Regions from separate parts of the Homo sapiens genome. Here region 2 is linked to region 1. The links are contacts of gene promoters, found by promoter capture Hi-C in human tissues and cell types (Jung and others, 2019). All regions are on one chromosome and are shown on one strand. Each heading gives the region's core, a stretch centred on a gene start or on the middle of the fragment in contact. The rest is flanking DNA. Distances are from core to core; before and after follow the strand shown.

The links. Contacts are between HindIII fragments. The study calls those that stand out against the background at their distance.
Region 2: a fragment that was not itself captured here is called in contact with the fragment with the promoter of ADNP2 in region 1 in 2 of the 25 tissues and cell types used here (lymphoblastoid cells and mesendoderm cells).

Annotation. Positions count from the first base shown.
Region 1 is chr18:80,105,318-80,111,686 of GRCh38, reverse strand. ADNP2 (ADNP homeobox 2) reads right to left here and starts at 2,425. Exons shown (of 4, transcript NM_014913.4): 1 at 2,215-2,425. RefSeq lists silencers at 1,904-2,003, 2,204-2,363 and enhancers at 2,173-2,674, 3,501-4,002, 6,329-6,369. The HindIII fragment of the contact is 8,526 bases long and covers 126-6,369 here.
Region 2 is chr18:79,477,030-79,483,979 of GRCh38, reverse strand. The region is part of intron 8 of NFATC1 (nuclear factor of activated T cells 1); the gene reads right to left. LOC107985162 (a long non-coding RNA gene) reads left to right here and starts at 2,634. Exons shown (of 2, transcript XR_001753518.2): 1 at 2,634-6,950. The HindIII fragment of the contact is 5,843 bases long and covers 2,108-6,950 here.

The sequences.
Region 1 (6,369 bases), core at 1,176-3,675:
GCTGAGGCAGGAGAATCGCTTGAACCCGGGAGACAGAGGTTGCAGTGAGCCGAGATCACACCACTGCACTCCAGCCTGGGCGACAGGGCAAAACTCCGTCTCAAAAAAAAAAAAAAAAAATGTCATTCAGGTAATACAGTAATAAACAATACTTTTTAAGCCACAGAACTTTTTTTTAGTTCCTGTGAAATCGCACAAAACGATGGTCACCAAAAAGGATTCTGGAGTTGTGTGCCCGGGTTTACATCAGCTCCACCATTTATGAGCTGTGTAATCTTCAGGAAATCACTTACTCTCTCCAGGCCTCAGCTGGCTCTTCTGTAAAACAGGGCGAGTATGACCTAATTCACAGAGTAGTTATGAGGATAAATGAGTTAATACATGCAAAACAGCACATAAGCACTGAGTTTGCTATTAATTAACTCCAAAAAACTAAATGAAATGTCCCAACTATTGGAATACAGGACTTTTTAAAAAGCAACTTTAAAAACACAGAATACTTGGATCATATATTCAGCAGATCTGGGTTCAAATCACTGGGAGATACCGGTTTCCACCTATGTAACACATTGCCCTAACAGGTCTAGGATAGCCAGAGGATGAAGGGCAGGGCAGAAACCAAGTTTGCAATATGCTATTGGTGAACTTATGAGGGCAATCATAAATTAACCAACAGCATATTGCAAACTTGGGTTCAAATTAAAAACGTGTCTCCCAAATCCCAGAATCTCTTCAGCTAAAAATCTTAGCATAGCTGTCATCTTCCCCCATAAACAGTGATCAACTCCTTTCAGACATGTCCTAACCCTCACTGTTCCTCCCCTCAACTAGAGGGCCGGTAGGACAACCTCTTGTCTCATCTTCACTCTTGTACTTCCTTTCTTAACACACATCTGTCACTTCATGTTTAAGGACGACGGGCTCAATGCTGTCTTCGCAGTGAAGTCCTAACTCCAACCGAAATTTAACCGAAATATTAATACACACTCATACATGGCCAACTCTCCAAGAACATCTTTAAATAAGTTACACATACATTACCGACTTCCAAATACAGCTGAACATGTACTTTACACAACTCTTTTTACATGTGGTCCTCTCTCCCACTAATGCTCCTCACCCCCAAAAATGGTACCCAGACTCCAAACCCCCTCTTTTGATAAAGGCTCTGCGTGGCAGATGCCCACAGTACTCTACAAACTGCTGCCCCACTTGCCAATCTGCATTGTCAGTTACCTGCTTACCAGTTTCTCCTCCCCCACCCCACTCCTCCACAGCCAGTATATTCCTCAAGATCCCAAGAGGCAGTGATTACCCGTGCAAATAGAGTAAGTTTTAAGCACGCAGGCAAGTCTTCTGTTCAAATAAACTACTTAAAATATCTAATTATTTCTCATTCTGCATCTGTACAGTATTTAAAAGGGCAGTTAAAATTAACATTCCAAAGTCAACTGTAGTAGAAATTTTGTAAACGGAATCTATTTCAATGCAACCAGCAACGGCAGATGAAAAGTAATGTTAAAGTCAACATCTGTATATCAATTATTGATATTCGCATCAAAAGCTCAACGATGAAGAAACAGGGCCCCGTTATCAGCTGTTCTTCAAACCTTTCTAGGGAAAAAAAAACCTGGGCAGATTTAGGTGTCACCGTCAGCTCCTGACCTACATCTGCCGTCACTCAAGGCTCCTCCAGAGAGAAGCTTCCAGGAGAACCCGGTCTCGGGGATGCGGCGGGCGGGCCAGCGGGCGGGGCGTTTCTGGAGTCCTTACAGGGGTCGCCACAGCTCCTTGCCCCCTCTCTTCTTCTCCATCCCCGTTCCCTCTCCCTCTACTCCTCGCTCCCTTCACCAGCCCCCCTCTCTCCCTCGGTCCCCGTCCTCGTCTTTCCCCTATTCCTACTCTCCCCTCAGGTCCCCATCCCCTTCTCCGCCCTCCCGGGGCGGCCCCCGCTCCCACGTGACCGGCGGCGGGCGGGGCGGGCCGCGGGCGCGTCGGGGGTCGACGGGCGCCGTTCGGGCCGCGAACCCGCGCCCTGAGAACGTCCCGGGATTCCCGAGGCGGCCACGGGCGGCGCGAGGGCAGGCGGCGGGCGTGGGTGTGGGCTGGGTACCGGCGGGGGCGGGGCTCGGAGGGGACCAGACTGGGGCGGGGGCCAGGACCGGGGCAGGGGGCGTCGCCGCGCGGGCCCGCGCCGGGCCGGGCCGTACCTACCGCTTGGCGCCCGAGGAGCACCGCGTCTCCGCTGCTGCCTCTCGCAGGGCTGCCGCGTCTTCCGCCGAGCGCAGCCGCGTCCCGTGGGGCCGCCTGCGCCCGCCCGCGCCTCCGCCCCGCGCGGCGGGACCCCCGCCTCAGCGCGCGCCCACCCCCAGCGCGACTGGTCCCCTCCTCCCGCGCAGCCAGAAAGAGAAAATGGCGCTCGATTGGCCTCAGGAAGTGACGTTGGCCCTCATTTGCATGTAGGCGCAGCCAGCCAATGAGAGCAGAGTGTGCTTGGGGGCCCCTGGCACTTCCCACAGGCCCCCCGGGGCCCCTGGCTAAAGATGGACTGGAGGCTCTGGGGTGGCAGTGGGGGGCCCCTGTTGGACCCCCTGACTCCCTTCTGTCCCAGGGAACTGCCCTGCCAGCTCCTTTCCACATCTGTGCAAACTCTCGTGAGAGTTTGAGTGGGCAATGACGTCACTAAAGGGGTGGGGAGAGTGTGTCATCAACCATGTGACTAATCACGTGGACTCACCACAGCTTTGACTTCATTTGCATGGAATGGGGTGGAGCTAGTGGCAGCTCCAGGAGTGGTGACCCCGCCCACATCTCAGAGCCAATGGGAGCCCAACTGTGATAATGCTGCCTTGCCATTGGAAGACAAAACTTTGGCTCCCAGAACTGGGACAAGTGTGCCATGATTGGCATATCCTGGTGAACCGACTAGCTGGGGTCTCCTGACTTCATCATTCCTGTGGGAAAGTGATCACACCTTCTCTTGAGAATTCTGATTTTTAGATCTACTACAAGTTGTGTGGGGAGAGGGTTAATTGCATACATTTGTATAAACTCTTAACCTAAAAGTTCATTTTTGCACAGGTGTTTATCAATTGTGTAGCAATAATAATTTATTCCACAAAATTAGTGGAAACATGGCGTAGGGCTTTCAAAATGGCTCTAGGTCTTCGTTCCGTGGAGTCCCCAGGCCTCTGGCGGACGCCCTCGTGCCCCAGAGCACGTGGGAGTAACCACGAGGGCAGCGCAGGCGCCTCCCCCAGTGCCCCTAACCTTAACCCTAATTCTGACCCTGCACCTGAACCTCACCTAGCACTAACCCTGACTCTGACCCTAACTCCCCTCCAGTGTTCCTTCCCCTGACCCTAACTCAGCCGCGCCCTCAGTGGCTGTTCCAGGCAGTTCCTTCTTGGCGAAGCCGTCTGCAGGACACGTGCCCCTTTCAGCACAAGGCCACGTCTCCTTCCAGAGCGCCGAGCCCCTGCAACCCGCCGCCAGCCTCCAGCCCTGAGGCCCACTCCAGCCACCGCGGGGCAGAGGCCGTGCCCAGGCTGGGCCTTCCGCCCACCGCCCTCTCCAGAGCCTCCTTGTCACCATCCGCTCGTCCATAATTTCAGCTTTTCCCTCTCAATGGGAGCCTTCTGCTCAGTTTAGCCCAGTGACTAAACACATAATAGGCACTAAATTAATGTCCATATTCGTTTTAAAACTGTGTTAAATGGTGGGCCGATATGACCTGACCAAAATTTGCTTTTTTCCTACATGAATACAAGTCATAATTGAAGTAGAGTTTGCCCTTTATGTTTGCTGACAAGTTAAGATTTTACTTTGAGTTACAGTGGTAAATGGGTGTGATGTCCCTATATATCTTCCTTGCAAAATTATGGGTGGGATGAAAAGTGTAGTTAAAGCCTGCAGTCTCCCATTGATCCTCTAGTGACCTCTCATTTTATCACATTTCTCAAAACAGCAGTCCCTGTGTCTGTCTCCTCAGCCCCCTGCACGCCTCTCGCCCCCACCCTCACCACTCTGCAGAAACGCCTTGGTCACCAGCGCCCTCCTAATTGCTGAGCCCAAAACAGATTTTAGGCCTCGTCTTTCTGTATCTATCTTCCATTTGTTACTACAGACCAATCCCCCTTTCCTACAGACCTCCCGCAACAAAGCCGCCCCACCACCACTACTCCTCAAACGGGCTCTTTAATCTCCAAACTCGGGAACTGTTTCCTAATCTACAGACCTCCCCCCACAAAGCCGCCCCCCCCCACACCCACTACTCCCCAGACGGGCTCTTTCATCTCCATATTCACGAACTGTTTCCTCATCTTCGCCTGCATCTCTTCCCGGCCCATCCTTGAACGCGGTGTTCTCTGGGATCCTGCTGACTTTTTCCTTCACGGTGCAGCACATATGCGCCACTCGCTTCCTGTGTGCCAGGCACCGTGCTGGGTATTGGAACTCCCACGCCTTTCATTTTTTTCTGCATTTTCTCCCTTGTTAATTTCGACCACAGATTCAAACCTTGTTATGTCAATTCCAAACCAGTATCTCCATCTCTTTCCTACGTTTCAGTTTTATTTTTCTGGCTGCCAAAGGGGGCAGCTCCACTTCAGAGTCCCACAGGCAACTCAGATTCAAAACGTTCAAATCTGAGCCCATCATTCTCTCCTCAACAGCCTCTCCTACAGCAAGCAGTGTGTTCCCCATCTCCAGTTTTCCAATTTTATATCCCAAATATTCGTCAGATCTCTTCCCTCATCTGCAGCCGCACTATCACTACCTGCATTCAGGTCATCTCCTGCCTGTAACACCTGCACAGGCTCCCACCACCTTACCTCCAGCTTGGTGCCTCAGGTACTTTCCCCAGTCAGCCCTTTTAGAGAGTGAACCTGACTGTCCTTCCCTTCTTGCTGCAATCACTCAAAATCCCCCAGGAATCAAGCCCAGCTGGTGAGCACGACACACAAATTCTCCAAAGCTGACCAGTCAGTCCCCAGCCTGTAAACACCACACGGTGTTTGTTCATGGGACTCCTGTCCCAACCCCTGAGCTAATTTTCATTCCATTGCCATTCAAGGCTGAACTCTACCGGCCTCTCTCCCAGAAAGATCTCCCTGAACACACACACACACACACACACACACACACACACAGTCAAAATATGGTAGGTACTTCTTGACATTCCCAAAACATTGTGTGTGTCTCCTGCTGCCCTCACCACGTTGTTTACTGTTATCTGCTCACTGCTTGTCTCTCTATGGGGCACCAGTAAGGACCGTGTCTCATTCATCATTGTATCCCTGATGCCTACATTACTTTAATAAATACAATATCAACATTTTCATAAATACAAATCTAATAAATATAATAAAATTTAAATGTTGAATGATTTTCCCCCTGCATTTTGCTATGAAAATGTTGAATGTACTGAAAAGCTGAAATAATTGTTCAGAAAACAACCATCACCTAGCTCTTCCAGTTAACATTTGCTTACTTGCTTTATCGCATATGTATTCAAATATTCATCTCGACTGTTTTTTTTTTTAGAAAACATCAGTACACCATCCTTAAACACTTCAGCATGGATATCTGATGAATACAGTTTAAAACCACCATCCACAGCATTGAGATAAAAAGGACTGTCCCTCCCACCACAGAAGGAATGAGCAATGTGACCTGGGGACTTGTCAAGATTATTTTCATAGACTCAGGAAAGTGCACCACACTGAAGTCATCAAACCGAAGACACAGGTTGGGCCTCAGGACTTATCTACCAGGCGAGTCACAGCTCATGCAGGTTTATTCTGCACACCCGCTCCTGAATAACAAGAAGACCACAGACTTGGTGGCAGTATGAGTAGATTCCTCGACCCCGGTTGTTCAGCTAGGTTTGAAAGTGAAGATGGCCCATGTGGAAGCTTCCCACTCTCTCATCTAGGTCCCCCTATAACCAGCATCGGCATTTGTAAGATAGTTGTTCAGAACAAAGGGAGCCCCAGAGTTGACTGTGGCAGCCACAGGCACTGTTGTGTGAATTAGAAAAGCAGGGGCCCTCTGGGTGTGTTGCTGTCCTCCGGGACCTGGATGGTCAAGATGAAGGTGCCTTGATATGTTTTTCAGTATCACTTCCTCTGCCTCTGTGCAGACCCAGCCTCACAGCAGGGCACAGACCTATGTGAACAGAGCGAGCTGGATTTCAGCTCCCACTTCCCGCTCTGCTCACTCTGTGTAAAGACAAGTGTGAACAACTGTAGTCAGCAGCCCGACTGGTCTACGCACAGACGACTGTGCACATGCAAGTGTACAATCCAAGAAACTGCAGAGTTCATCTAAAACCAGTGAGCCACAGGAGAGGAGAGCTTGGAGAACAAC
Region 2 (6,950 bases), core at 3,780-6,279, 630 kb after region 1:
ACCTCAGGACCAGGTCACCCTGGAGTGACACCCCAGGAACCAGGTCACGCTGGAGTGACACCCCAGGAACCAGGTCACGCTGGAGTGACACCCCAGGAACCACGTCACGCTGGAGTGACACCCCAGGAACCACGTCACGCTGGAATGACACCCCAGGACCAGGTCACGCTGGAGTGACACCTCAGGAACGAGGTCACACTGGAGTGACACCTCAGGAACGAGGTCACGCTGGAGTGACACCCCAGGACCAGGTCACGCTGGAATTACACCCCAGGAACAAGGTCACGCTGGAGTGACACCCCAGGACAAGGTCACGCTGGAATTACACCCCAGGACCAGGTCACGCCAGAGTGACGCCCCAGGAACGAGGTCACGCCGGAGTGACGCCCCAGGAACCAGGTCACGCCGGAGTGACACCCCAGGACCAGGTCACGCCGGAGTGACACCCCAGGACCAGGTCACGCCGGAGTGACACCCCAGGAACCAGGTCACGCCGGAGTGACACCCCAGGAACCAGGTCACGCTGGACTTACACCCCAGGACCAGGTCACGCCGGAATGACACCCCACGAACCAGGTCATGCCGGAATGACACCCCAGGAACCAGGTCACGCCGGAATGACACCCCAGGAACCAGGTCATGCCGGAATGACACCCCAGGAACCAGGTCACGCCGGAATGACACCCCAGGACCAGGTCACGCTGGAGTGACGCCCCAGGACCAGGTCACGCTGGAGTGACACCCCAGGACCAGGTCACGCTGGAATTACACCCCAGGAACCAGGTCACGCTGGAATTACACCCCAGGAACCAGGTCACGCTGGAATTACACCCCAGGAACCAGGTCACGCTGGAATTACACCCCAGGAACCAGGTCACGCTGGAATTACACCCCAGTACCAGGTCACGCTGGAGTGACACCCCAGGACCAGGTCACGCTGGAATTACCCAGGAACCAGGTCACACTGGAGTGACACCCCAGGACCAGGTCACGCTAGAATTACACCCCAGGAACCAGGTCACGCTGGAATTACACCCCAGGAACGAGGTCACGCTGGAGTGACACCCCAGGACCAGGTCACGCTGGAATGAGACCCCAGGAACCAGGTCACGCTGGAATTACACCCCAGGACCAGGTCACGCTGGAATTACACCCCCGGACCAGGTCACGCTGAAGTGACACCCCAGGACCAGGTCACGCTGGAATTACACCCCAGGAACGAGGTCACGCTGGAGTGACACCTCAGGAGCAGGTCACGCTGGAATTACACCCCAGGAACCAGGTCATGCTGGAATTACACCCCAGGACCAGGTCACGCTGGAATTACACCCCAGGAACGAGGTCACGCTGGAATTACACCCCAGGAACCAGGTCATGCTGGAATGACACCCCAGGACCAGGTCACGCTGGAATTACACCTCAGGAACCAGGTCACGCTGGAGTGACACCCCAGGACCAGGTCACGCTGGAATGACACCCCAGGAAACAGCTCATGCTGGAATGACACCCCAGGAACCAGGTCACGCTGGAATGACACCCCAGGACCAGGTCACGCTGGAATGACACCCCAGGAACCAGGTCATGCTGGAGTGACACCCCAGGACCACGTCACACTGGAATGACACCCCAGGACCAGGTCACGCTGGAATGACACCCCAGGAACCAGGTCACGCTGGAATTACACCCCAGGAACCAGGTCACACTGGAATTACACCCCAGGAACGAGGTCACGCTGGAGTGACACCTCAGGAGCAGGTCACGCTGGAATTACACCCCAGGAACCAGGTCATGCTGGAATTACACCCCAGGACCAGGTCACGCTGGAATTACACCCCAGGAACGAGGTCATGCTGGAGTGACACCCCAGGACCAGGTCACGCTGGAATTACACCTCAGGAACCAGGTCATGCTGGAATGACACCCCAGGAAACAGCTCACGCTGGAATGACACCCCAGGAACCAGGTCACACTGGAATGACACCCCAGGACCAGGTCACGCTGGAATGACACCCCAGGAACCAGGTCATGCTGGAGTGACACCCCAGGACCACGTCACACTGGAATGACACCCCAGGACCAGGTCACGCTGGAATGACACCCCAGGAACAAGGTCGCGCTGGAATTATACCCCAGGAACCAGGTCACGCTGGAATTACACCTCAGGAACCAGGTCACGCTGGAGTGACACCCCAGGACCAGGTCACGCTGGAATTACACCCCAGACGTCACATTCAGTCGTCACAACAGTGAGGCCCACTGGGCCCCATCTGAAGACAACGCTCAAGCCTGGCTCACGAGGGTCTATGGCTCTCAGTCCCGCACATTCTCCTTAGTTCGGGCTGAAGAAGGTGCACAGGCCTTGGCAGCGCCGAGGCGGTTCCTGGGAGGAGGACTCTGCCTTCAGCCACCTGAATGTGGCTGCCTCTGGGGCTGCCCTCTTCAGCTGAGGGTTCACAGATGGGGCAGAGCCCCAGGACTGCCTGTGCAAGTCAGGGGGCTGCAGAGGACACGGCGCCCTCATGTTGATTGGGAAACCCTACCCGCCTCGTTTTACATTAGAAAATTGAATATCTGGGCCCTGGGCTGCAACACTTTTTTGAAGGGGTGGCAGGAGGCGGTGTCCGTGGAGGGTGGGGCTCTAACCGCTGTCTGGAGACTACAGAGCTGGAGTCATTTTCATCCAGGGCACGCGTCTTGCCTTAGGCCATGGCGCCCCCAGCTCTGCGGACGCAGCTGGGCCTCAGGAACTGCCCCTTCCTGCTGTTCCAGCTTGAAGCATGTGGTAAATCCAGAAATGATGAGTCCACGACAAAGCCAGACGATGGGGAGCCCCAGAGGCAGGGCTTGGCCAAGTGCTCTCTGTGAACTCAGGCCTGCGCCTTTGAGAGGTGCAGGGGTCACTGGAAACAGGCCCAGATGTGGGAGTGAGACGCCGGTGGGCACCCACATCTCTCCCGCTCAGAAGATGCTGGTGTCCCGAATGGCCAAGCCTCCATTCTAAATTAGGCTGGTAATTTTCAGAGTTTAGATCTTAAGCAAAAGCACATGGCTGGAAGGTTAAATTAATACCCTGTTGGGATCCTCTCTCCGCTGCTCGGGATTTTCAGCCAGGGCCCAGAAACATGGCCAGGCATGGGGGCCAGTGCGCCTCTTCTGTGAAGTGTCCCGAGCGCTTTAAAAACTCTCACCCACCAGCTCTGGCGGACACTAGAGGCCCCGTGCACAGCTGTCCTGTAAATCAGCCGCCCCACGGGCCAAGGCCGGCTATGCCCGAGAGCCGCTGGGGCTGGGGCAACCGGGTGGCGTCTGCTGCTGCTGGCTGGAGAACGTCAAGAACACGGCTCAGACACGGCCCCGTTTAAAACCGCGGTGGTACCGGCATTAACCCCCGCATCTCTCCAGCCACTTGGATTCTTCCTGGGGAAGTCCTGACCTAGGATGGTGGTGGCGAGGGGCACAGGGCTCTGGGACACGCGACCCACCTCCCCAGGATGCTGGCGGCCGGCAGTGGCATCGGGACGCACGGGCTGCTTGCCCTGCGGGTTCGGAGCAGGCCCAGCACTGATGCATCCACCACCCCCAGGGGCAAGCAGAAGGCCCAGTGGACGCTTCGCTGGGACCCCGCCAGGTTGGCAGCTCCTGTCCCCCCACCCACAGGCAGGCGCTCCCTCTCTTTCTGAAGCCTGGGGCTCCAGTCCACAGAGGCTGTGGCAACACGCTCCTCTCAGGAATAAACTCGTGTGCCTGCCCACTGCTTCTCTTCCGCCCAGAGCTATTTGCAGGGAGCTGGGGGCAGCTACTTGAAACCTGGGATCACCGCACGTGCCCCACCCACGACGGCATCTTGTGAGTCTGGAGAGCCAGTCCAGGTCCCTTGGCCCGGAGCTGGCAGCATGAGCTGCGACGTGGTCACCGTGCTTGGAAGGTGGCCTGGGCTGACCCTGCAGGTGCGGGCCCTGTTCCTGCCACAGTGCCCCTCCCTGGGCTGGGGTCTCCACGCGGCTTCTCCCAGCCTTGCCCATGAAGTCTGGCTCAAGTCTGGGGTTGGCCGGATGGTTTCTCAGCCCTGGCAGCGGCGTCTTGTGCCATCCCAGCTGCTCTGAGGCTGCCTCCCACCGGGACCGGGCCTTCCCCAGGCGACTGCCCCATCTCCCTGTCCTTGCCCTAAGGGGCACTGCCGCGAAGCACAGCCAGGGACAAAGGGCGGTGGACGGCAGGGATGCGCGAGGCACCCGGCACCCACAGGGGACGTTTCAGAATGGCCCCGCCTGACCCGCTGGCCTATGAGGATGCAGCGGGATGTTCTCTGCTAAGTCATGTCCTGGAGAGCTGCAGCCTTCCCAATACAGAGAGAAGCTGGAAAGTGCAAACTCACCTTCACAAGCAAAGGAAAGCCACACGGCTGCTTCCACACCCCAGCATCTAAGAAGCTTAAACACACGAACATACTGCACCTGGGCTTGGCCTAAACTGTGCTTTTTGTGTGGGTTTCAGAGAAGATGGATGCCTGCTCTGTAAATCAGAGCCTCGTAAGACGCATCCTATCAGTGAGAAAGTGAGTGAGCGTCTGCAAGAGCGCCTGGGAGTCTCACCCGTGGAGGGGGGCCGCACAGGCCCAGTTCACGCTGTCGCCCGTGGAGGGGGCCGCACAGGCCCAGTTCAAGCTGTTGCCCGTGTTCCGGGCTCACCCTGCACCAGGCGGCCTCTGGCTACCTCCTGATATCAGCCATGAGGGGCTGGGGTAGAGGTGGCGAAAGGATGGGCTCAGAAAAAGGGCAGCTCATTTTCAGGCTAAGCAACGGTGCAACAGAAACACCAATCACCTGAGGGTGAGTTTATGAAACTCGTTACAAAGAGCAGAGTGTGGAAGGCGAGTGCTGGCCTCAGGGCCGGCTGGCTTTACAAAGCATATTCCCACAGAGCAGGCTGGCTGCGGTGTCCATGGCAGTCCCGTTGTCCATGATGGCTGCCCCATCGTCCACGGCAGCCCCAGCGTCCATGGGGACTGTCTGTGGAGGCGGCGCGCAGTGGTCAGCGGCGTGCAGAGCTGACAGGTAAACCGTCCCCGCAGACCCAGGCCTCACGCTTGCATCCTCCGTGGAAGGCACGGAGGGCCCGTCCCATGCCTGGTGCTGTTCTGGGGCCCAGCTTCTCTCTGATGCCGCTGCAGAGTCTCTGCCTCGGTAGCAGTGACGTTGGGAGCTGAGTCCTGGAGGGGGGCTTCCGCCCCAGGTGAGCACGACGTTTCCAGGCCCCATGCAGGTGCCAATTCTGGCCACAGACGCAGGCAGTGAGCTGGGCAAGCCTCTCCTCCAGGACCTCCCCTCCCAAAGCCCCCGCCACGGCCATCGTCAGCCAAAGAGCATTCGGCACAATCCTGGCCTCTTAAAGAACCCCCAAGCCTGGAAAATGGGCTGCCATCCCTACCCGGTAACAGGAGCCAGGACATGAGTGGGCTTCACCCACCGCAGCCCCTCGAACGGTTCCTGTTCTAAAGCCCCAGCCGGGTCTATGCAGCCCCAGGGCAGGCAGAGCCCCTCACCCAGGGCAGACCTGGGGGCTCATCACAGCTCTTAATGGCCCGGACCACATCCTCCTCCCAACGTAGTCCCCTTGGCTGCCTTGGTGTGGCCTGGCTCCCGGGGGACAGCTGGGGTCTTCACGGCTCCCAGATCAGGGCCCCCTTCTGCTACAAGACAGAGGTGACAAGATCTGAGAATAAAAATCGGCATGAGCAACACGGTGGCAGGCACAAGCCTGCCCCACCTGTTGGCTTCCTGTGTGGTTGGTGCCCGGCAGCTCCTGGCTCCTCGGGGGCTCTGTCTGCAGCACAGGGAGCACCTGGGGGTGGGCGGGGGGGGGCCTGGGGGCAAGAACGGGGGCCTGGGGATGGGCAGGCAGGGGGGCAGGGGGCAGGCTCAGCCCTGTGGCTTTAGACAAGTGGGGTCACTGCTATGGACGGACTCGTGTCCCCTCAACCTCATGTTGAAGCCCTAACCCCCGTCCGCGTGACTCTACTTGAGAGTGGTGTTTGCAGGAGGTAACTGGGGGTTAAACAATGTCATCAGGGTGGGGCCCTGATCCAACGGGACTGCCGTCCCACAGGGAGGGAGAGACAAATCGCCTGTCCTGCCATGTGAGGATATGGCAGGATTTTGGCTGTCTGCAACTTGGAATGGTCCTCACCAGAACCCGACCGTACCAGTCCCAACCTCGGACTTCCAGCCCCCAGAGCTGTGAGAAATCAATGTCTGTTGTTTACAAGGTGCCCAGCCGGTGGTGCTCCACTATGGAAGCCCCAAAGACTGAGACAGTGCCCCGGACCCCCTTCTTCTGCCAACAGTACGGCCGGTGGTGCTCCACTATGGAAGCCCCGAAGACTGAGACAGTGCCCCGGACTCCCTTCTTCCACCAACAGTACGGCCGGTAGTGCTCCACCATGGAAGCCCCAAAGACTGAGACAGTGCCCCGGACCCCCTTCTTCCGCCAACAGTAACATCTGGTCCCCAGGTGGCATTGGGGGTGGGGAGATCTAACGCTGAGCTGCCTGCAGGCTGCAGCTGCTGTGCACAGCAAAGAATGATCCCAAGACAGTTCCCTGCTCCCCCATGCCCACATTTTTATGCAACCTTGTGTTCAGCTTGAATTACTCTACCAGGGATGCACTACAGTACTGGACAAAAGAGGTTTTGTTCAAAGTCTAAACCCCTGGAAAACAAAGATCAGATTGTCTTCTGTTTGCTGTATGACAAGAAAGTCCAAGTTTTGCCATCAACATAAACAACCAGGAATGACACCTCCGGGGCATGACTTTTCTCAAACAATGAAAGAAAACAGCGGATGAAGCTGCCTTATCACCCATCCCTCGAGGCTGAGAGGCATCATTTCTCCTTGTTCAGAGCCAAGATCAGTTTCCAGAGCAGGTGAGGGATCCACGGCCCACCATGGGG